Regions from separate parts of the Homo sapiens genome. Here all the other regions are linked to region 6. The links are contacts of gene promoters, found by promoter capture Hi-C in blood cells and fetal thymus (Javierre and others, 2016). All regions are on one chromosome and are shown on one strand. The core of a region is centred on a gene start or on the middle of the fragment in contact, and the rest is flanking DNA. Distances in the headings are between cores, read along the strand shown. Region 1 has its middle 110 kb from the start of FAM76B. Region 2 has its middle 48 kb from the start of FAM76B. Region 3 overlaps CEP57 (centrosomal protein 57). Region 4 holds the start of LOC107984377 (a long non-coding RNA gene). Region 5 overlaps CEP57 (centrosomal protein 57). Region 6 holds the start of ENDOD1 (endonuclease domain containing 1).

Region 1 (4,009 bases), core at 585-3,084, 590 kb after region 6:
CTTGGTTGGCTGATCTACAGCCAACTCTGCTAGCCAACCATGACACATCTCTCAAAAGGGGCTGCTCTGCCCAGGATGCTCCTCTGCACATGAATTTCTCCCTCCAGATCCAGTGACTGCCTTCTTGTGTTACCCCTAGAGACCTAGGGTGGCAATGGCCCCACTCTTACTAGTTCTAAGGTACTGAATCATCCCCTGTGGGTGTTTCTATATCTTGCCCCGACCAGTGTAACTTCCCCTAAAATTAAGCCATGCTCAAAGTGTCCTTCGATCGTGTGTCATCTTTTCCCTGCCTAATGAAGTTCCTGTTCTCAGGGAACTTACTGTCGGGTGCAAGGGGACAGACAACCAACAGACATATAATTACAAATTGTGATAAGATCCATGAAGGAAACAGAACAGGTGGTGTGAAAGAGAATAACAACTTGGGGCCTAATTTAGATAGGATGGAGATGGCATTTAACCTAAGTCCTAGAGAATGAGAAGGAGCCAGAGTGGATTCTAGGCAAGGAAGGAAGAGTTTACAGAGGCCTTGAGATAGGAGAGAGTTTAATGCTCAAGAAATTGAATATTTTCAACAAAGATGCCGAAAACACACCATAAGGAAAGGACAGTCTCTTCAATAAATGGTGCAGAGAAACGTGGATATCCACGTGCAGAAGAATAAAATTAGACTCTTAACTCACACTATCTACAAAAATCAACTGAAAATGAATGAAAGACTTAAATGTAAGACCTGAAGGTGTAAACTGCTAGAAGGCAACAGAGAAAAAGCTCCATGATCTTGGTCTGGGGGATGATTTTTTTGGATTTCACCCCAAAAGCCCAGGCAATAAAAGCAAAATTAGACAAAGGGGATTGCATCAAACTAAAAAGCTTCTGCTCAACACAGTGAAGATACAACCAACAAAATACAAAAGTATATTTGCAAATCATACATCTGATAAGGGGTTAATATTCACAATATATAAGAAATATATCTTACAACTCAATAGTAAAAAAAAACCCAATTAAAAATGGGCAAAGGACCTGAATAGACATTTCTCAAAAGAAGACATGCAAAGGGCCAACAAGTATGTGAAAATATGTTCAACATCACTAATCATCAGGGAAATGCAAATTAAAACCACAAAGGTATGTTATTTCACACCTGTTATAATGGCTGCTGTCAAAAAGACAAAAGATAACAAGTGTTGGTGATGATGTAGAGAAAAGGAACCTCTTGTACACTGTTGGTGAGAATGTAAATTAGTACAACTATTATGGAAAATGATATGGAGATTCCCCAAAAAATTAAGAATAGAACTACCATATGATCCAGCAATCTCACTTCTGGGTATATATTCAAAGGATATTAAATCAATGTCTTGAAGTACTATCAGCACTCCCGTGTTTATCACAGCACTATTCACAATAGCCAAGATATGGAATCAACCTAAGTGTCCATCAACAGATGAACGGATAAAGAAAATGTGGTATATGTACACAGTGGAATAATAGCCTTAAAAAACAAAGAAATTCTGTCATTTGTGACAACATGGATGAATCTGGTGGACATTAAAAAGTGAAATAAACCAGGCATAAAAAGACAAAAATACTGCATGATCTTACTTATATGTGGAATCTTAAAAAGTCACTCTCATGGAAACAGAGAGAAAATTGTGGTTATCAGAGGCCATAAGGTGGGGGACTGGGGAGATGCTGGTCAAAGAACACAAAATTTCAGTTAGGGGGAATAAGTTCAAGAGATATATTGTACATCATGATGACTGTAGTTAACAGCAATATGCAGTGTACTTGAAAATTGCTAGTACAGTAGAGTTTAAGTGCTCTCACCAAACAAAAAAGATAAGTATGTGAGGTATCATGCGTATGATAAATGGCTGATTTAATCTTTCCACAATGTGTGCATGGGTGTGTATATACATACATATAAATATACATATACACCCACACACACATATCACATTGTATGCCATAAAAATGTACAATTTTTACTTCTTAGTTTTTTTTAAGAAAAGCCATAAGTAAGAAAGTCACATGAAAGAAACATAAATGATCAATAAATATATAGGGAAAAAAAGACCAGTGTTGCTATGTGGCATGAAATAGAGTTGAATAACTCAGTAATCTTATATACAGACTCAAAAACACTTGTTTACAGTGGTTTCTAAATAATTTTCTCAGCCCTAAAAATTATATATAGGCTTTTATCACACTTTTCCTAATTTCTCAACTATTAACATCTTAGTTTAGCTAATATTTAGAAATTTTTAGATTGCCATGTGAACAGTGATTCTGGTAAAGAAAATAGTCATTTAGGGAAAACCTCATTTTAGTCTGTACACAAAATAAAGCTCAGCCAGACCCTTTTCCAACACCCCTTGTTTCTCATTAGTTTTCCAACTGAAGACATTGTTAATTCAAATAGTCAATTAGCCAGATCCTCTAATGACTCCCCTTCCATTAAGATCTGCCTGACTGCGTTATATCACCAGTGAATGGCCAGCCCCAGAATGTCACTGAAGAGTCCCATGGAATTCAGTATTTTAAAATCAGTGGCATTGGACAAGGACTCAGAGGACTTGACTTCCCTCAGTCTTTCTTTAAAGAAGGCCTTTGGCTTGGGCCTCAGTCCCTTCACTTCATCTTTCTGTAGAAGGGGCAGAGCTAGAAAACTATAGGGTCCACCCCAGCTCTGATAGTTTTTGAAGCTGGGTGGTAACCATCAACCTTACTAGACAATATCTGGTCTCCTTAAAATAAAATATCTCATTCTAGACCACTCTGACTCAAGCTTTTAGAATAAGCCTCTCTCTATCCTGTTCACTGTTGGCATTATTTCCTCACCATTCTTGGTTCTTTACTGGGAAACAGCAAAGAGGACTTTGGCCCTCAGGAGACACAACACTCACTCGGTCTAGTTTGAGGGAGTGTGTCACTCATGAACATCAGTTACTTGACGTGATGGTTAATTTTACGTGTCAACTTGCCTAGGCCATTGTACTCAGACATTTGGTCAAACACAAGTCTAAATGCTTTTCGTTAAGCTACTTTTAGATGAGATTTAAGTCAATTACACATTTAAATCAGTAAACTTTGAGTAAGGCCGATTACCTTCTATAACATGAATGGGCCTCATCTGATCAGTTGATGGCCTTAAGAATAAACAGACAGAGATCCCAAAGGAAGAGGGAATTCTGCCCCAACCACCCTCGGACTTGAGCTGCAACATCAGCTTTTCCCTCGGTCACCAGCTGGCTGGCCTACCCTGCAGATTTTGGATTTCCCAGCCTCCACAATTGTGTGAGTCAATTCTTTAGGAAGTTAAATTTTAAAACTCCTTTATGAACCATTTTGTAGGTATTCAAATCAATACCATTAGATCAATATGGATAAGACATATCTTCTCCCCCTCATGCCACACTCTGGTCACTAGCACCAGTCAGTAATCCTTCTGAGCCACAGACTTCCATTTGTAACATGAGCATATAAAGTAGCTATTCTGCTGACTTTAGGATATTGGCACTAGGAGCATGGAAAAAAAATGTGGAAGTACTGTATAAATGGTATGATTAAGCAACAGCAATAAGGTATGCCTGATTATTATATTTACTATAAATTGTAAACATATATAATTAGGAAATTTTCCCCCACAAAAAAATGTATCCTATTTATCAGACTGAGTTAAATCATACTCATTTCTAACTGGAGTCAGTGTCTCTTCAGCTTAGTGATCAATGTAGAGAATCCTGTAGTGTGCATAGAGAGGAAGGAGAGAAAATAGTAAACACTGATTTTTCTTAAATAAAATGAAAGCCAGAATTCACATTAACAAAATGAGAGTGGTAAACACCGTAAATACATGCTCATCCCCCTCATTTAGGTCTTTTGAAAAACATGTTATATAAGCTGCCTCAACCCCTGCTGGGAATTTTGTGAACAAACAATGAAAAAGAAGGAAAGAAAATGAAAGGGAGAAATTGAAAGAAATTATGCAGAGAGGGCA
Region 2 (3,652 bases), core at 171-2,670, 650 kb after region 6:
CAGATACCTGGAAGTCACACATTTAACAAATATTTGTTAAATGAAAAATCAAATAAGTGATAGTAGGCAGTTACCTTCAGCAAATACACTCACCATACATATGTACATACATAAAGGATGGGGTTCTTTTTTATATTTCTCAATCTGAACTGGGAGGTGAAGTCTCTCTTTGCTTGATTCTACCTGTGAGGGGAATCGTTCTGAAGTGCTGATACCTTAAGAGCACAACTGGCAGAATTGTGGAAAGCACCATAATCTACAGGTTTAAATCTTAGGTCTGTCTCTTAGTAGCTGTGTGACTTTGGGCAAGCTAGTTATTCTTTCTGTGTCTCAATGACCAAACTGTCAGATAGGAGTGATAATCAAGGTTGTCATGAGATAGGAATAAATTATATGCAGCTATGCATCACATAACAATGCTTCTGCCAACAACAGACTGCATATGCAATTATGGTCCCACAAGATTATAATGGAGCTGCCCTATACAGATATACCATTATTTTATCTCTTGCGCTGTATTTTTACTGTATTTTTTCTATGTTTAGGTATGTCTAGATACACAAATACTTACCATTATGTTACAATTGCCTACAGCATTCAGTTTAGCAGCATGCTGTACAGGTTTGTAGCCAAGCAGCAACAATAGGCTGGACCACCATATAGCCTAGATGTGCAGTAGGCTATTACTATCTAGGTTTGTGTAAGTACACTCTATGATATTCACATAATGATAAATGTGCCTAATAATCCATTTCTCAAAGGACATTTTCATCATTAAATGATGCATAACTATATATATAAAATATATATGTGTGTGCACACACACAAATATCTGTATGCAGCATGTGTCTTTATATATGACATATACTATATATATATATATATATATATATATATATATATGAAAGAAATGTGTAGTACACAATGAACACAATATAAGCCTGGGCTATTACTGTTGAAAGGTTGGGAGTAGAACACTAAGGAGTTTATGCACCCTTGCTCCCATGAAAATTGTTCTTTCTTTCTTTCTTTCTTTTTTTTTTTTTTTTTTTTTTGAGACAGAGCTTCGCCTTTGTTGCCCACGCTGGAGTGCAATGGCATGATCTCGGCTCACTGCAACCTCTGCCTCCCAGGTTCAAGCGATTCTCCTGCCTCAGCCTCCCAAGTAGCTGGGACTACAGGCATGCACCACCACACCCGGCTAACTTTTGTGTTTTTAGTAGAGATGGGGTTTCACCATGTTGCTCAGGCTGGTCTCGAACTCGCGACCTCAGGTGACCTGCCTGCCTCGGCCTCCCAAAGTACTGGGATTACAGGCATGAGCCACTGCACCCAGCCTAAATTGTTCTTTCTTAATGCTTTGTTCCCTTTTGGTATCTCTTAAAACTCACTTCTCACAATGTAAATGCAGCATGAGGAGCTAAAATCCTGACAAGGGATAGCATATATTTGTCTGGCCTTTCCCTCTACTCAGATTTCTCTGGGACCTATAGAAGTGTTGTCTGGTCAAGAATATTAGTTACCATATGACAGACTTTTGCACTTTTGCCTTCCCTTTTCTTCATCCTGGGGATATCTCATCACATCACCCACTGCTCAAAGGGCATGATAAATTCTAGCCAGGCAAAGCCCCCATCGCTGTACCAAAGGAGCTATATTCTCCTCCTAACCTAAATAGTGAATCAGTGTAACATAAACTTATATGACTAGTAAAATGGTTGCTGCTAGCTGACCAGCGGTCCTGTCAGGGAGTCATGCATTGTCGTGGTCTTTCAAATCAACTTAAGGTATGAATTATACACAATAAAGTGCACCTATTTCTTATATTTATATGTGAATGAGATTTGACAAATGTATAACCTCTATAACTACCACAGTCATCAATACATTTCCATCATCCCAAAAAGTTCCCTTGTCCCCTTGGTAGCAAATTATCGCCACCCTAGTCCCCAAGCAACCACTTATCTGTCACTTTAGTTGAGTTTTTGTCTTTGCTAAAATTTCGTACGTTTGCTTTTGTGTATTTTCTTTCATTCAGTTTATTTTTGAGTCATTTATGTGTTACATGTTTAAGTACTTTGCTCTTTTTTATTGCTAAGTAGTAATCCAGTGTGTGAATATACTATAATTTGTTTATTTATCAACCTAGTCATAGACATTTGAGTTGTTTGCTTTTTTTTTTTTTTTTTTGGCTGTTATGAATAAAGCTGCTATGAACATTCATGTAAAATTTTTTATGTGGACATATGCTCTCTTTCTCCTGTGTAGATTCCTAAACAGCATTGCTGGTCCTATGATAATTGTATTTTAACTTTATAAGAATATGCCAGACTGTTTTCCAAAGTGTTCTATCATTTTATATTCTCATAACTAATTTATGAGTTACAGTAGCTCCACATTTTGTAAATACTTCGTATTGTCAATCTCTTTAATTTTAGTAATTCTAGTGAATCCGTGATTGTATCTCATTGTGGTTTTTTTTTTTTTTTTTTTTTTGAGACGGAGTCTTGCTCTGTCGCCCAGGCTGGAGTGCAGTGGCGCGATCTTGGCTCACTGCAAGCTCCGCCTCCTGAATTCACGCCGTTCTCCCACCTCAGCCTCCCGAGTAGCTGGGACTACAGGCGCCCGCTACCATGCCCAGCTAATTTTTTTGTATTTTTAGTAGAGACGGGGTTTCACCGTGTTAGCCAGTATGTTCTCGATCTCCTGACCTCGTGATCCGCCCGCCTCGGCCTCCCAAAGTGCTGGGATTACAGGCGTGAGCCACCGCGCCAGGCCCTCATTGTGTTTTAATTTGCACTCCCTGATGATTAGTGATGTTCAGCATCTTTTCATGTGCTTATTGGCCATTTGCATATCTTCTTTCATGGTGAATCTGTTGAAATCTTTTGCCCATTTTCTACTTGGGATTTTTTTATCTTCTCATTGAATCCTAAGGTTCTTTTATGTTTATATACAAATCCTTTGTCAGATATACTTTGAAAATATTTTCTCCCAGTTTGTATTTGCCTTTCCATTCTCTTAATGGTCTTATGAGCAGAATATTTTAATTATGATAACGTTCTATTTTTCCATTTTTTCTTCATATTCCATGCTTTCTCTGTGCCTAAAACATCCATGCCAACGCAAAGTCACAAATATTTTCTGATATTTTTCTTCAAAAAATGTCATAAGTTTAGCATTATGTTTAGGCCTATAAGCCATGTCAAATTACTATGTAAAAAGAGTATGAAGTAAGGTGTGTGTGGTGTTCATTTTTTTTAATGGATAACCCAGTTGTTCTAGCATCATTTGTGGAAAATACTGCGTGAAAGGCAATTCTACACAAAAGCACACACACACCATCTTCTGTTCATTGATTTATTTGTCTATCCTTACATGAATATTACATTGTGTTTATTATTTTAGCTTTTATAAATTTTAAAAGAAGGTAGTATAAATCCTCCAATATTGTTCTTGTTTTTCAAAATTGTTTTCGTCATTCTACGTTCTTTGCATTTCCATATAAATTTTTGAATCAATTGACAATTCTAAAAAAAAAAAATCATGCTGCAACTGAGGTAAAACTCTACATCAAGTTAGCGGGAATTGACATCTTAGCAATATGGAGTGATCCAATCAGTGAACATGGTATATCTTACCATTTATTTGG
Region 3 (3,833 bases), core at 412-2,911, 740 kb after region 6:
TTGGAAGTAAAAAAAATATTGGGGTTACTTGCTGCTGGGTATCATGTAGAAGGAGAGGGAGTTAGGATGGTGATTCCACTGACTAAAATGGAGAAAGCTGAGAAGTTCAGAGAGCAGAACAGTTTTGTTGACTGTTGATTGGTAGCCATATGATAGACACACAGTGCCAAGTGCTCTGAGTATATCTTCTCATTTAATTTTCACAAAAGGCTTCTGAGGTGGGTATATTCTCATATTATAGATGAGGTAGATGCTAAGCCACATTTTCTGGGAAGTATGCATATATCCTCAGTGAAATTAAATAACTTGCCCAAGTACCAGCTTACTGGGAAATGGCAGAGCTGGGATGAAACTAGCCTTTTCAACTCTAAAACTTTGGCTGTTTTTTCAAAGTTCATGTATGAAAAAGAAATACAAGCAAATTATTCCTGTAGGAGTAAGGAGTAATGGTCTAATTTGTTGCTTATACTAATTAGACTTATTCTATTGGAACACCAACATGCCAGCATCAGTTTGGCTAAAGTAAAAATAAAGCTCCCGTATTTAAAATTATTCTAAAAATAATGGAACAAAAATAAAATTCTTTTCATAGTATTAATACATTACCAATTACATCTGTTCATCCATCTGGAAATTGCTTCTTTGCCTCCTCAGACTAGTTTCTAGAATATCTTTCTCCTCTTCTCCCATTTGTGAAAATCCTTCCCATTCTTCTTTTCTCTGTGTCTGATTTTTTGCCTCCTTCATGAGTCTTTCCTTCAACTCCCCTTGTTTCTCACTCGCCCTGTTCTGTACTTTGGCAATATTGCCTTAATTTAGGACAACCAGAATTTGTTTACTCATGTCTACTTGTTTGTGTATTGTTTTATATATATATAAGCATATATTTATTTATATTAATATTTAAGTGTTAAATGACTAGTGCAGTAGATTTTGAAGTCTTTAAAAGAAAGCCTAGAATGTATTATTTTTCAGTTAGCATGAGAGTTAACCAAAAAAAGGTACTCTTGTACTTTTTGTTGTCAGAAAAAAAATATTTTCATTAAATTCTCCTTTTCCTTCCTGCCTTGGTTATTTGGTATAGCTGGAGAAACAGAAGTTAGAGAAGCAGAAGAAGGAATTAAAAGCTACCAAAAAGACTCTTGATGAAGAAAGAAACAGCAGCAGCCGTTCTGGAATCACAGGGACCACAAATAAGAAAGATTTTATGAAACTGAGACCTGGAGAAAAAAGGAGAAAAAATCTTCAGTTATTGAAGGACATGCAAAGCATACAGAATTCATTACAAAGCAGTAGTTTGTGTTGGGATTACTGACTCATAACCAGGTCAGAAATTTTATTCAGATAATCTGTACCTCATCAATCAGATGATGACAATTTACTTCCCAGGTCTCATACTCACTTATGTTGGAATTAATTAATAGCAGGTGTTAAAGGACCCAGGCTTCATTACACAGGCTTTTCATGTATGCAGGATGACTCAATGTTAAAGCATTTAAATGGAAACCAGGGGAGTTTTAAAGCCCGAGAAACCACACATAATCTTTTGTTGAGATGAGTTTGCTGTACTGACGCTGCACTTTGTAAACAGATTACCAGTTTTTTACTTGTGGGTGTGATTTTTTAAAATAGTTCTTTATATATAATTAAAATTAGGTTTAAATTTTCAAAATATGAGACTATGCTATAGGCAGTGCTTGCTTGAAAAGTCTCATTTTTAAATCTCCCTGGCATGAGGTGCCCACTTCCCCTTTCCAAAGCAACCATTAAACATACTTTGTTTCTACTATTGGTGGAGTTTTTCTATATTTAAAAATACATATATATTTCAGAGGATTTTTATTTTGCTTTTTGGCATTTCAGACTTTGATCAGTGTTAAGTGCACTTGTATTGCTTTTTAATCTGTTAATTTTTTAAAGACCCAAGCAGTCATTTTGAGTTATATCTATAAAAATTATAAAAGGATTTTTGAAAGTATAAACAAATTGTCAGTGAAATAAATGAGATTTTGGAATAAAGTGAGAATGGGAGAAGGGATATGTTGTGAGCATATACCTTCACAGTTCTTAATACCTGTTTTGTAATCATGATATTCAGTCAAGGCATTATGGTTTTTAATCTTGAAACTTAGAGAACCCTTTGAATATTTGCTTTTACTGGTGTACAGTATGAGTGGAATATAAACTGTACACATAATTATCATGTTGATATAAATCATAATTTCAACTAGATCAAGACATGTTAACCTTTTATAAATTTAAAGTCAATAAAGCACCTTTTTAAAGGAAACACTGCAACTTTCCTTAACAGCCTGTTAATAAAGGCTTTGTGACAAGCTCTCAAAAAATGCATTTCTAAATAGGAGGACATCAATGTATTGATGAAGAGAAAAAACTAGTACTTAGTTGCCACACTCATGCTTACATAGAAAGAGAGCCCAAGAATATTAGATTTCCTCATGATACAAGATACTACAGTAACAGGCTTTAATTTAGGATCCTTAAGATTTTGGGGTATTATTTGTGACTCTCCTGAAATTGTAAACTTGTGCTTCTGTGTCCAGTTTTCTAATGAGTAGGTTCGTAGCTTGATTGAATTAATAATTGTGAGCCCATAGACACAAGGGAAGTGAGAAACAGTGCTCTGGTGACATGATAAATATATGTGTCAACCACCATTTCAGCTATTAAAAACTCCTGTTATCTCCTTGTTTGAATTTCAGGTCATTAAATTGTATAACCATCATTTGAATTGTAGTGGCTCTGAGTCCTAATTAGGAGAATGGTGATTGAATGATGCTAAATCCCACCCCTTTTCTCAGCTAGGATTCAAACTGAACTACTCCAGCTTTTTGTACTGTCAGGTGAGAAGTGAAAAAATACTGCTTCCATTTTCTTATCTGCAAGTTTACAGTAGAGGAATGTGTCATCCATCCACTTACGTTGTAACAGAGCTTTATTGCAATTCATTTCAAATAAGGTTATGTTTACAGACTTGTGGTAGACATGTGAATTGTTCATTCCAATATAATGTGAATTGCAGTGGTAGTAGCGGTATACACAGTGCTATGGGGGCACAGAGGAAGGTGGGGATGTCAGAGAAGGCAGTCGTGAATCAGATAACTTCCCAAAGGAAGAGATGATGCCTAAACTCTAGAAAATAGGAATTAGTCACAAGGGAGAACAGTTGTTCCAGGTGCACAAGACAGACTGAACCAAAGTGGGGAGGCAGGAATCTGCAGATTACATGAGGCAATTGTGAACAGCAGAGTAGCATTGGTACGTAAAAGTTGAGGTATGCAGAGACTAGGTCGAAGGAGGCTAAGGAGCTTCAACTTAATCATACTGGTCTCTAAATTTTGTAACCCTAATCAAAAAGGGAAAAAATTACACCTGCACAACCAATAGACATACAAAGTTATGAAACATGTAACTGTCAATTCAAATATTTAAAAGTTTTGCTTGTGTAAATATATAAAAAGGGCTAGTATTCCTCCTCCCTCCCTCCCACACACACCAGTGGTATATATTAAATGCCCAAGTGCATGTACTCCATATTGGAGACTTCTGCAGAAGGTGAGGGGAACCACTGGAAGGTTCTCAGCAGAGAAGTGGTAGGGTTGCACTTAGATTTCCCTGGCTTTTGATTTGAATTTGAAGTGGATGCAAGTATGTTAAGACTAGAAGCTTTAAATTCTTGATCTCTTCAGCCATTCTACATTCTTTTATGTGGTATCAGGCCAAGATAACCAAGGTTTAAATGAGGAAAATGGCAGATGCGTTTGTGAAATACTTGGAGTAGAAAGCTTAATTTTTAATTACTGATTTGCTAG
Region 4 (3,591 bases), core at 322-2,821, 610 kb after region 6:
GGTGAACTTACTCAAGGCAACGATGGGCCAAGCTGGGGATGGAATGGAGTCACTGGGAATCTGAAGCACCGCGAGAGCCAGCGTGGGGCCTGATCAACAAGAGGTGATGGCCAAACACTTTGGATACTGTTTCAGAGCAACACGCAAACCATGTTTTCCTCTGCCCTCATACCACAACAACAATCATCAACACAGAAGAAGACTTCTGTGACCAAAGTGTGGGGGTTTTTCCCCGGGTATCCTCCAATCAGTTCTAACATTATGTACCCAGAAACAGCAACAGATATCACATATGGAGGGCTCAGTCCTACAAGTCTGCCCCCTTCTCCCACCAGCCTCAAGTCCAGGCCTCCAGAACTCCTGACCGATCAGCTTCAAGTTGGGGTTCCCATGACCCTATCTTTGGGTTTGATTTATTTATTAGAGCAGCTCATAGAACTTACAGAAACATATTTACTGGTATGTTATGAAGGATATTTTAAAGAATACAAATAAACAGCCAAATGAAGAGATACATAGGGAAGGTCTGGAAGCATGGACAACTGTGTCACAATGTGACTGTACAGAAAGGATATGACCTGAATAAACCCAGCAAGGCCTGCCTGCTCAGGGTTTTCTGGATCTCTCTGTGCAGCATTCCTTCCTGCGGAGTATGGGGTAGAACCCACTCTGGAATGAGGTTCTCATGACCCACAATCAGATGAGAGTCCTGCCTTGGGCAGGTGAAAAGAAGGCAGGAGAAGGTCAGAGAGAGAGATTCCATTTTCTGAGGCCTGTTCCTAAGGCCTAAAGTACCCCAACATTGTGACAAAAGAATATAACAAAGATTATGAGGTTTCTGAGCTAGGAACTGTATATGAAAACCTGTGTGTGTGTGTGTGTGTGTGTGTGTGTGTGTGTGTGTGTGTGTGTGTGTGTGTGTAATCATATCACAAGAGCCATCATCATGCCTCACCCATCCTGGAAGAATACAACCTGAGTGGAGTTACAACAGCCATACGCTGCTCAGTAGCAGCTTTAATGTAAATAGAGGCTGACTCCCAAAGACCAGGTGGGATGAGCTTAACTAGAGCCCCAGAAGCAAGCAAAGAAGGACAGCACATAAATTGCCCACCTCTCCCCTGCTTCCTGGATACCATTAATTCACGCAAACCTTCCCTTGCTTCCAGACTCTATCTACTCCCTAGAGAGGGCAGTTAGAACATTTGAAGTGTCAGATTATTTATCCAAAACACACAGAGTTACCTTAAAATCCAGAGCCACATAAAATCAGCCACCCAAAATTTGAAAAGTACATACTCTGGCCCATCTGCATCGTAGGTTATCAAATTTGACTCCTCTGTACTACAACTGAGTATGCACACTGCTATAGGAACTAAGAAGGTCATTTTTTTTCAGACGATGGAGTTAGAAAAGGCTTCCCACAGGAGTAACATTGGAGGTGAACTTTGAAGGGCAAGCAAGAATTATCCAGCTATGAAGAAACAGAAGTGTATTTCAAGAAATGCAAAAAACATGAGTCAAGGGACTCTGGTAAACTTAAGTACAGCTTGTTCAGGGAAAGCAAAGTTGTCCGAGAGAAGGATTGAGCTTCCATGCAAAAAGAAATCAGGTTGAACAGGAAGGCTGCAGGGCCTGCCTATGGCCGTGAGGGTTACTCCTAGGACCTCTGAGTGGTTGGAGGCTGAAAAACAGCCTTTGCCCTGCTCTCTAAGGGCCCTGTGTACTCTACAGCAGGACAGGGTACACCCTAAGGATGAGACCACCTTTTAGAATGCAAAAAGGCTTGATTCTTTAGCTGAGCCTTAAATCGCAAGGCTTCCTATGCCCAGAGGGGGTGACTTCTCAATTTTGCACAAAGTCATCGTGTAAATTAGCAGGGATTCTTTAAATATGGTCAGATTATAGAAGGCCATGCAAATTTCTTTAAAGGATTTGGGTTTTAAGTAAGAACAGTGAGGAGCCACTGCAGGGTTCTGGGCAGGGGTATGACATGGCAAAAGAAATTATTCCAGCAGCAGCTGTCTGCAAGGCAGATTGGAGCCGAGAGACTCGGGAAGTTACCACAGTTGTCCAGGCATGAAGCAAAAAGGGAAATTTTACGGTATCCATGGCAACTGAAGGGGAAAAATATGAAAATTATTTTGAAGGCAGAAACAACGAACTTGATTACTGATTGGGTATGAGTGCGTGGAAGAGGCAGCAGTAATAAATGACTCAGGGGTTTTGAGCTTAGGAAGCTATGAGAATAAACCTGAAATGGGGACGCTAATCAGGAGAGCTGCTTTGAGGGAGAAAAGAGAGTTTGGTTTAAGACATGTTGAATTTCACATAATGATGAAATGTAGAAGTGGAAATGCTCTCTATACATGTAAAAGGACAAGACTAGGTCATTCTTCCTTTTCTTCATTATTTTTTTCTCTCTCCATGATTTTTGCATACATCTTAGGATCTTTCTCTGAGGGATGTTTGGGAATAAATTTACCACTTCCCTTACTTTTAGTAAACTGTGAAAAAGATCATCATTATCATCATCAACCTTGTCTTCAAGTTAACACAAAGTATTAGTCAACACCTAGTTGTGTTTCACTTTTATGATTCCATGCCCTTGAGAGATTTCCACTCTCTGAAACAGCCAATATTTGCAGGATCAATATGTAGAGAACAGAAAGAGTAGAATAATAATCATCGAATAATACCTACATAAGATTAAAAGTAGTATTCACACTCTACAGGAAGAAACAAAGAAAGAGGAAGGATACTATGCTAGGTTAAGACCTGTGGTCGGGATGCTGGTGATTGGAGATAAAAAGAAAATTAGCAAGAATTTCTTTTTTGGACAGGGCTAATTTAAGTCTTCTCCTTAGGAAGGAAAATGGATTTGGGATACTCCTTACATAATAATTATTATTTTCATTCATCTAGGACTTAACATTTTATACCCATTGTCTTATCTTCTCCATGGATTGCAAACCTTGTGCAAGACCATGTAGCTATTCTGCAGGAAAGCTGGGCCACAAACTGAAATTTCCAGCACGCCAGATTGAGTCATTTGAAGACGAGAAAAAACACAGTGTTTCATGAGGAAATTCAGCTACTTCTTAAAAGATCAGCATGTAAGAATCCAAAAATATTGTTGTTGAGGGCAGCTTCTTCAGCAAGCTCTCCTTCCCTGCCTTTTACAAACAGAAGTCCTTCTGTATGAAAGATCACAAGGGTAGGCTGCTCATCTCTGCCCATTTGAACAGCACATCCCTTTACTCATGCATTTCTGTTTGCCTCAGCCATGATGTTCCTGGATTTCACAAAGAGGGAGTTGTTTCTTGCACAGAGCAGTTCTGTGAGTCAGTGTGAAAAGAACTACCTGCCATATCACCTCCCACTATCTTAGAGAGGAGAGTCAACTTTGATCAAAGAGAGAGAGGAAGAAATGGTATGTTTTCTCTCTCTTGATTTTCCACCTTATTAATTTCCATTATAGTTTAACACTGTGGGTCCAAATCTGGGCTTGCAGTGAGGCAATCTGGTTCATGTTTTTGTCCCATTGATGGACACATTGTTTGCTTTGCTGTTAAAGAGATTTAGTGAAGT
Region 5 (3,782 bases), core at 1,053-3,552, 710 kb after region 6:
ACCATCTGTCAGTAGGAAGTCGCCTACAACAAATAAAACTCCACAGTTAGCATCTCCTGGGTTGAAATTATTATGTGGAATCCTAAATTTAACAGAATCTCATTCATGACAGAATGGTGTACTGTGGAAATAAAGTTTTATGTTTGAGTGTTTGATGGGCCTTAATGTTTTCTAATTATTTTCTTTTTTGTTAATTAAATGTAAAGTATTTGAGGCAAGGACAGTGCCTTATTTTCTTTCTGGAGTTTTGAATACTATAAATATTCAAGTAGTAGTTTGTGGATGGGGAATAGAGTAATTCAGTCATTTGTAGCAGTTTCTGGTCCTGTAAAAATAATGTTTTTATTTTTCTGAACGTATATTTCACAGTATATATTTTTAACTGCGGTATTTACATTCATTGTATCATTTAAGTATTTCTGCACAGCATTTGTATTCAAGTTGTATGAACATTATTTTCTTCTTGTGTCTGGCATATGGCTATATTCAGACTAATATGAAACACTTTAAAAGTTGTATTTCTTTAATGATTGAATTGTATTGTTTCTAGTCAGTGGATTTTTTCTGTTGTCTGTATGGACAGTCAATCTCAGTCATAAATATTTGTGATTTAAATCTGCTATTTGTGGTTCACACTTTTGAAAGGTAATTTGTGTCTTTATTTTTTAGAACAGCTTTGCTGAGCCATCAAGGTCTAATGGAAGCATGGTTCGGCATTCTTCATCTCCATATGTAGTATATCCTTCGGATAAGCCTTTCCTTAATAGTGATCTACGACGCTCCCCAAGTAAGCCTACACTTGCCTATCCAGAAAGCAACAGCAGAGGTAATCGAGCCTAACGAAATAAATGTTATTTGTGTTTTCTTGCTGCTTTAAAATTCTTAACTTTGTCCTCCATTATTTTGCCATTAGAGGAAAATATATTTCCCCTTTGCTTCCAGTTTCAGCCCCCAGAAAATATTATGCTTTTCTTGTATTCCTTATATTGATTGTTGAACATCATCATCCACCAAATTACTGATGCTAAAACACTTTGAGTCATCAGTGACTGCTCTGTAATCCCCACTATTAGTCCGGAATGAAGACCTTTTTTTGCTTCTGAAATATACCAAAAGCATACTGTTTTTTCTGCCTTTTTGTGTTCTCATTGCTTTGGTTCAGGCTTTCATCATCTGTAGCCCAGATGTTCATAGTACATTCCTCATTAATCTCCCTGCCTGTTTTCTCCTCCTCATCCCCAGTTAACAACATTTCTGTCATTTGTCATTATCCATCATCTCTCCCACAAAATTAAAGCTTTAGCATCTCTTCATAGCTTACATAATAAATTCTTAATTTTTCATAACCTAGACCCTATATGCCTCACCAGCTTCATCCCTAACTTGTCTTCTGTTTTTTCCTTTCCCATCCTTTGCTCTGGCTACTTTGAAATACATTTATTCCTGGAACCTGCCATCTGTATTAGTTTTCTTGTCGCCTTAACAAATTGCCATGAACTTAGCTTTAAATATTTGTTATCTCAGTTTTCTGTAGGTCGGAAATCTGTGTAGGCTTATCTGGGTCCTCTGTTTAGAGCCTTACAAGGCTGAAATCAAGGCTTTGCTTGGGGCTCTGTTCTTTACTAGAGGCTCTGGGGAAGATCTGCTTCCAAGCTCATTAAGATTCTTAGCCAAATTCAGTTCCTTGTCATTGCAGTACTGAGATTCTGTTGCTTTGCAGACTTTTACTTGAGGACAGTCTTTGCTCCTAGAAACTGTCCTCCTTCCTTCATGTTTCCCTTATTGTCTCCTACGGTAACAGTAGGTAGTCTCTCATGTTTCTTTTTTTTTTTTATTTTTTATTGTTTTTTTGGAGACAGAGTCTCACTCTGTCACCAGGCTGGAGTGCAGTGGCGGGATCCCGGCTCACTGCAACCTCCGCCTCCTGGATTCAAGCTATTGCTATTCTCTTGCCTCAGCCTCCTGAGTAGCTGGGACTACAGACGCGCCCAGCTAGTTTTTGTATTTTTAGTAGGGACGAGGTTTCACCATGTTGGCCCAGATGGTCTCAATCTCTGGACCTCGTGATCCACCCGCCTTGGCCTCCCAAAGTGCTGGGATTACAGGCATGAGCTACCGCGCCTGGCCAAGTCTCTTATGTTTCAAATCTCTCTGAGTTCTGTTGTTACATTTCTCTAACCACAGCGGGAGAAAATTTTCTGGTTATGTTATCAGATTGGGCCCACTCAGATAATGAAAAGATGGTTTTGATATTGAATTTGTTAATCGTCTTTTAGATGTTTCTTCATCTGTATCTTTTAAAATACACCTACCTCATACTTTGTGTGAAGTTTAAATGAAATATCTTTGCTTTATTTGGGATGCTGTGGCATTTCCTTTTTTTGAAAGTTGTGTTTAATCACTAATATTGCAACAATTCTATGTGTTAATGATTCTCTAGGTAAAAGAAATATTTTTGACATCGTAGGCTAAACAGGCATTTGTAAATTAGTTGAGGAACATTTTTTGTTTCAGTTGGGATATATATTGTAAGTATCCTAAAAATCTCAGAATGAACCTGTTTTGTAAACTGGACTGATTGTACAGTAAAATACCAAGTAGGTAATGATATCCAAATACCAGCTTAAATCCTAACCTATAATGGGTGCTGAAAAGTGTTTACTGAAATAAAAGTAACTAAATAGTGTGATGTCTTTTAAGAATTTTAGTACTCTGTAATCACTAACCTAGAAGCCTCTTTATTATAAGATACTGTGTCTCGATGATAACGAAAATTTTTAATTAATGGTTAAAGCAACTGATAAGGTTCTACACATCAGAGTATAGCAGGTTGGCAATTTAAGAAAATTAAGTTGCATGACATTCAAACAACATAGATTTTAAAAAGCAAAAAAAAAAAAAAAAAAATGACTGAAGCCCACAGTAGAGCAAAAATCAGTTGCAGTAAGTTTCTTATTCAAAAATAAGCACAAAACAAAATATCCATTTACAAAGTTCTAACAGGAACACAAAATCTAAGAATTAGATATTAATCCTTCAACTATAATATTGTATCTAGTTCTGATCTTTACACCCATGAAAGGAAACTTTTAAAAAGTTCAAAAAAATGACAAATTACTAGCAAAGAATAAGAAATATTAAGAAGGCAGATTTATTCACCGAGAATCAGAAAAATTTTAGCACAGCATGTTACTAATAGAGCTAAATTCTGCTTGAGTGCAACATCAGTGGTTTTAAGGAATAAAAGAGAAGTGAGACAAGCAGGGAGGAGACGGAGAGGAGAAATAAACAAGATAAAAAGTAACCTTTAAGCTTTTATGCCTTTAGAGCATGATGCGGTGAACTATTTAAGCAATGTCCCAGGATAATTATTATAATCCATTATCCTTTTATAGTGTTTTAATCCAACGATACTTACTTTCCAAATGGGAAGGAAAGACACAGAAATCACTATCCCCTTCTCACCCAGAAAAAAAATAAAGGCTGTGAGATATGAACAAAGACCAAGAGAGTTCAGAAAAGACATTTGTTGGGGATAGGGATAAGTGTGTTGGGGAGGTTAAAGGAGAGGAAAACCTCTCAGAGGAAAAACGAAATAATAGATAATCTGAGTTTTAAAGAATGAGCACAGTTCTATAAGAAGAAAAGTTCAACAAGAGTACAGCATGTGAAAGGTTTATAAACGTGACATGATTTTTTTTTTTTTTTTTTTGAGACAGTCTCACTCTGTCACCCAGGCTGGAGTGCGGTGGCATGATCTTGGCTCACTACAACCTCTGCCT
Region 6 (3,455 bases), core at 201-2,700:
CACCCATTTATTCTGTGCCACTTCAATCTACCAGTCTCTTCCCTGATAGCAAAAAGAATCGAGTCACCACCTTTAAAAGATGAAAATCCTCAACATGATTTACAATATTTTTTCCAAACTGCAGGTCATGAGCCATTAGTGGCTCATAGAAACAATTTAGTGGGTCAACACCAGCACTTTTTTAAAAAAGTGAAGTAGAACAGAAATATGAAATTGCAATGCCAATCATAAGCATAAGAATTATTTCATCAAACTTTTCTCATTATGGGCCTTCTCAAAAAGTGTTTGAAGGCCTCTGGCCTATAATAACCTGAGTAATATGACCCCTGCCTCCTCCTTTAGCCCCACTTCCCATCATCCCCCACGCGGTTCTCCGCGCTTTACCCACACTAGCCTTCCTTAAATTCCTCCAATACATCATGTTCCCTTCTGTGGGAGACCACTTAGCACATGGTTTTCCTCCTTGCCTAGTTAATGTCATCCTCCAGGTCTCAGCTCAGATGCCACTTCTTCAGGCAAACCTTCCCGGATTACATCCTGAACCCCTGTAGCTGTCAGGGTCTCACAGATCTGTGTTCAGTTTTTAGTTATCCCTTTAATAGCATGTTTCCTCGGTTAATGACAAACTTTCCCACTAGGCTGTCTTTGTGACCGCAGGAGCCCTGCTCTTGTTTACCCCTGTGGTAATCCAGTGCCTATCTCAGGCTGGCACCTAGGCATTCAGAGGGATAAATGAAGGAAAGAATTGGCCAACCTGTTGACCAATGACGTTGGCTGGCCTCCTTCCTTGCTTGGTATCGGTTTTGTTTCTAACACTTGCACCAAGAAAACCACACAGGGTTATACTGTCTGCCTAGTTTAGGAACTTCCTTTAACAGTATTTCTTTACTCTCTGAGTTTCTGGTGAGCTAAAAAAACATAACAAAAAACAAAAAACTCCATCAAAATTGTATGCGTGTGCTGGTCGTTGAGTACTTCGGTGGAGAGTGGGAGACGCATCTTCATGAAATTTCAGAGGGGAACTCTGCCCATCCACTCCGAACCAGCCGCAGCTCCACGAGCATCTCACGCCACCCCTCTGCATCACCAGGGCGGCCGTGGGGCGCGCGCGATCAGCAGGCTTCTTGGCGCCCAGTCCATGCGACTATCTCTTCCCAGCCCCGGGACTAGGCCCGCCCCACTCGGATTCTCCACTCTTGGTAGCGCGCGTCCCCCGGACTGCTGAGACCAGGCGGCGCGGAGGCAGGTGACCCGCGTCTCCAGTCCCGGGCGCAGCCCAGGGTACGTTGTCAGCATCGCGGAGCGCGGCCCTGGGCCTCTGCAGCCATCTTCAGGGAGGGAGGCGCGGCCTCCCGACGCGGACCCGCCCCCGCCGCCCGGGCCGCCCCGCCCGGCTCCGCAGAGCGCCGCGCCTAGGTTGCGACTTCCCTTCCCTACCCTGCTCGGCTGCGTAGTGCGCTCCCCGCCCAGCCTGCAGAGCTCGCGCCGCGGCAGCCCAGCCGCTCGGCCCCGCCGCGCTCGCAGAGGCCGCCATGGGCACCGCGCGCTGGCTCGCGCTGGGCAGCCTCTTCGCCCTGGCTGGGCTGCTGGAAGGCCGGCTCGTGGGCGAGGAGGAAGCCGGCTTTGGCGAATGTGACAAGTTCTTCTACGCCGGGACCCCGCCTGCGGGGCTGGCGGCCGATTCCCACGTGAAGATCTGTCAGCGCGCGGAGGGTGCTGAGCGCTTCGCCACCCTCTACAGCACCCGGGACCGCATCCCCGTGTACTCCGCGTTCCGCGCCCCGCGCCCTGCGCCCGGCGGCGCCGAGCAGCGATGGCTGGTGGAGCCGCAGGTAAGCGAAGTGGTTCCCGAGCCGGGCTGCGGGCGCCGGAGACCGTGCCGCTGGACATGCCCCCAGTTGCAGCTACCGCGAGGGGCGGGCCGGGAACAGCAATCCCTACGCCTTCGGTGCCTTGGGCCAAGAAACCCGGGTTCCAGGTCCACCCTGTTGCGTCCCCGGAGTTAGCCTGCCTCGCCCCTGTCGAGCTACAATAAGAGCCTGGCGATCTGCGAGCCTTCACTTCATGAGCTGCAGGGCGGGAGGTCCCCTGTGGGAGGAGGTTCTCCCTGCATTTCTGAGCAGACATCCGCAGTGTTTCATTCCTGAATGGTGAAGAGCTTGATACAGAGACCCTGGAGACCGTTCAGATCCGCAGAAAGCCTAGGCTGGGCGCTCACAGGCCTTCGTGCAACTTATTGCCATAGCACTCATTTGGAGGTGGGTAGGTGGGCATTTTCATCCCCATTTTACAGAAGAGGAGATAAACCCAGGGGGTGAAGAGACATATGGAAGACTACCCAGTTAGTAAGATGGGGCAGGTCTCTGTCTAGAAATTCACTGCCTTTTCTACTAAGTAAAGCTTCTCTTCTGCAGAGCTCATCCTAGCCTGAAAATCCTTCCTCTACCACGGCGTTGAGTAAATTCGATCTGCGGTTGTGTTGAATTAGAACAATGAAATAAAGATACAGATTTTTAGAAACGCAATGGGGTAGTTAAAAATGATAGGGAAACATTGACTACCTCCAACTGATGGAAAGATAAGCCAGTTTTTCCTGACTCCTCATATCTATATTATCATACCACTAGGAAATCGTGTCACCTCTCATGGTGTTCTGTCCCGTCTGGTAAAGGTGACCAAACACTTGAGAAGCCCTCAGAGTCTTCCGAACCTGCTGGCCTGCTCTTAATACCTCTCCTCAGTTGGCCTCCTCTCTAGAACACCCTGCCAGACTCCCCTTTGCCCTCTCACCAGCCTCCCACCCCTGCCCAGGCTGCTGGGGGAAGAACTGACCCAACGCTCTCCCTTTCCTGACGGCCACAGCTGCCCAGGACCACACCAGTGGACAGGAGGCTGGCTTTCAGGTGCTTTATTCAGAGCCTGTGGGTTGTAATCTCATTCAGATATTTCTAGCTCTGAGGTCTTGGCCAGGTCTCAAACAATCTGCACCTAGTTTTCTTATCTTCCTCACATCCTTCCACCTACCTCAACTGTTGATAACACTTGTCGAGATCAGGCATGTGAAAAAGACGTTGTCAGTTGCACACACAAGACACATTTAAATCCAAAATTAGTTTTCCACCAGCTGCACCCCTAGAGCTCACAGGGTGTTCCCCACCTCTCATCTTGCATTGTGATTGTGTGCCTGCGAAGAAAACAAATGAGCTAGTTCTTTCCCCTTGATCTCATGGACAGCTTGGGGAGACAGAACATACGTCTGAGGAAATCATGGGAATGGATGCTAAACAAATTTCAGTTAAATTCAGAACACATTTAGTGACTCCTGCTGTGTGCCAGATATTTGGGACCAAGAGATCTGAGTGCAGTTCTGGAACAAAGGCTACCTGATCTGCAGGTGGAGTTTGCTGGGTGGAGAGGTGGTGTAGTATCTGATTAGAGCCATGCTATGTGGGTTC

The links. The method cuts DNA at HindIII sites, captures the fragments that hold promoters and counts their contacts. A CHiCAGO score of 5 or more calls a contact.
Region 1: a contact is called between a fragment that was not itself captured here and the fragment with the promoter of ENDOD1 in region 6, in 1 of 17 cell types (neutrophils). The highest score is 6.6, in neutrophils.
Region 2: a fragment that was not itself captured here is called in contact with the fragment with the promoter of ENDOD1 in region 6 in 12 of 17 cell types (non-activated CD4 T cells, monocytes, total CD4 T cells and 9 more); the score reaches 9.0 in non-activated CD4 T cells.
Region 3: a fragment that was not itself captured here is called in contact with the fragment with the promoter of ENDOD1 in region 6 in 1 of 17 cell types (total CD8 T cells); the score reaches 5.6 in total CD8 T cells.
Region 4: a contact is called between a fragment that was not itself captured here and the fragment with the promoter of ENDOD1 in region 6, in 7 of 17 cell types (monocytes, total CD8 T cells, neutrophils and 4 more). The highest score is 7.7, in monocytes.
Region 5: a fragment that was not itself captured here is called in contact with the fragment with the promoter of ENDOD1 in region 6 in 10 of 17 cell types (total CD8 T cells, naive CD8 T cells, non-activated CD4 T cells and 7 more); the score reaches 7.9 in total CD8 T cells.

The regions. Positions count from the first base shown.
Region 1 is chr11:95,676,307-95,680,315 of GRCh38, forward strand. No RefSeq gene overlaps it. Among named protein-coding and RNA genes, the nearest start is that of FAM76B, 110 kb to the right of the region's middle. The HindIII fragment of the contact is 1,921 bases long and covers 875-2,795 here.
Region 2 is chr11:95,739,964-95,743,615 of GRCh38, forward strand. No RefSeq gene overlaps it. Among named protein-coding and RNA genes, the nearest start is that of FAM76B, 48 kb to the right of the region's middle. The HindIII fragment of the contact is 8,213 bases long and covers 1-3,652 here.
Region 3 is chr11:95,829,942-95,833,774 of GRCh38, forward strand. CEP57 (centrosomal protein 57) reads left to right here. Exons shown (of 11, transcript NM_014679.5): 11 at 1,085-2,752. The coding sequence ends at 1,315. It overlaps MTMR2 (myotubularin related protein 2), which reads right to left. Exons shown (of 15, transcript NM_016156.6): 15 at 2,939-3,833. Among named protein-coding and RNA genes, the nearest start is that of CEP57, 41 kb to the left of the region's middle. The HindIII fragment of the contact is 4,048 bases long and covers 1-3,685 here.
Region 4 is chr11:95,696,107-95,699,697 of GRCh38, forward strand. LOC107984377 (a long non-coding RNA gene) reads left to right here and starts at 3,251. Exons shown (of 2, transcript XR_001748337.2): 1 at 3,251-3,433. The HindIII fragment of the contact is 4,092 bases long and covers 1-3,591 here.
Region 5 is chr11:95,798,563-95,802,344 of GRCh38, forward strand. It overlaps CEP57 (centrosomal protein 57), which reads left to right. Exons shown (of 11, transcript NM_014679.5): 2 at 670-826. Among named protein-coding and RNA genes, the nearest start is that of CEP57, 10 kb to the left of the region's middle. The HindIII fragment of the contact is 2,015 bases long and covers 1,296-3,310 here.
Region 6 is chr11:95,088,396-95,091,850 of GRCh38, forward strand. ENDOD1 (endonuclease domain containing 1) reads left to right here and starts at 1,451. Exons shown (of 2, transcript NM_015036.3): 1 at 1,451-1,832. The coding sequence starts at 1,533. RefSeq lists enhancers at 853-1,132, 1,203-1,262 and a silencer at 1,273-1,702. The HindIII fragment of the contact is 8,670 bases long and covers 1-2,398 here.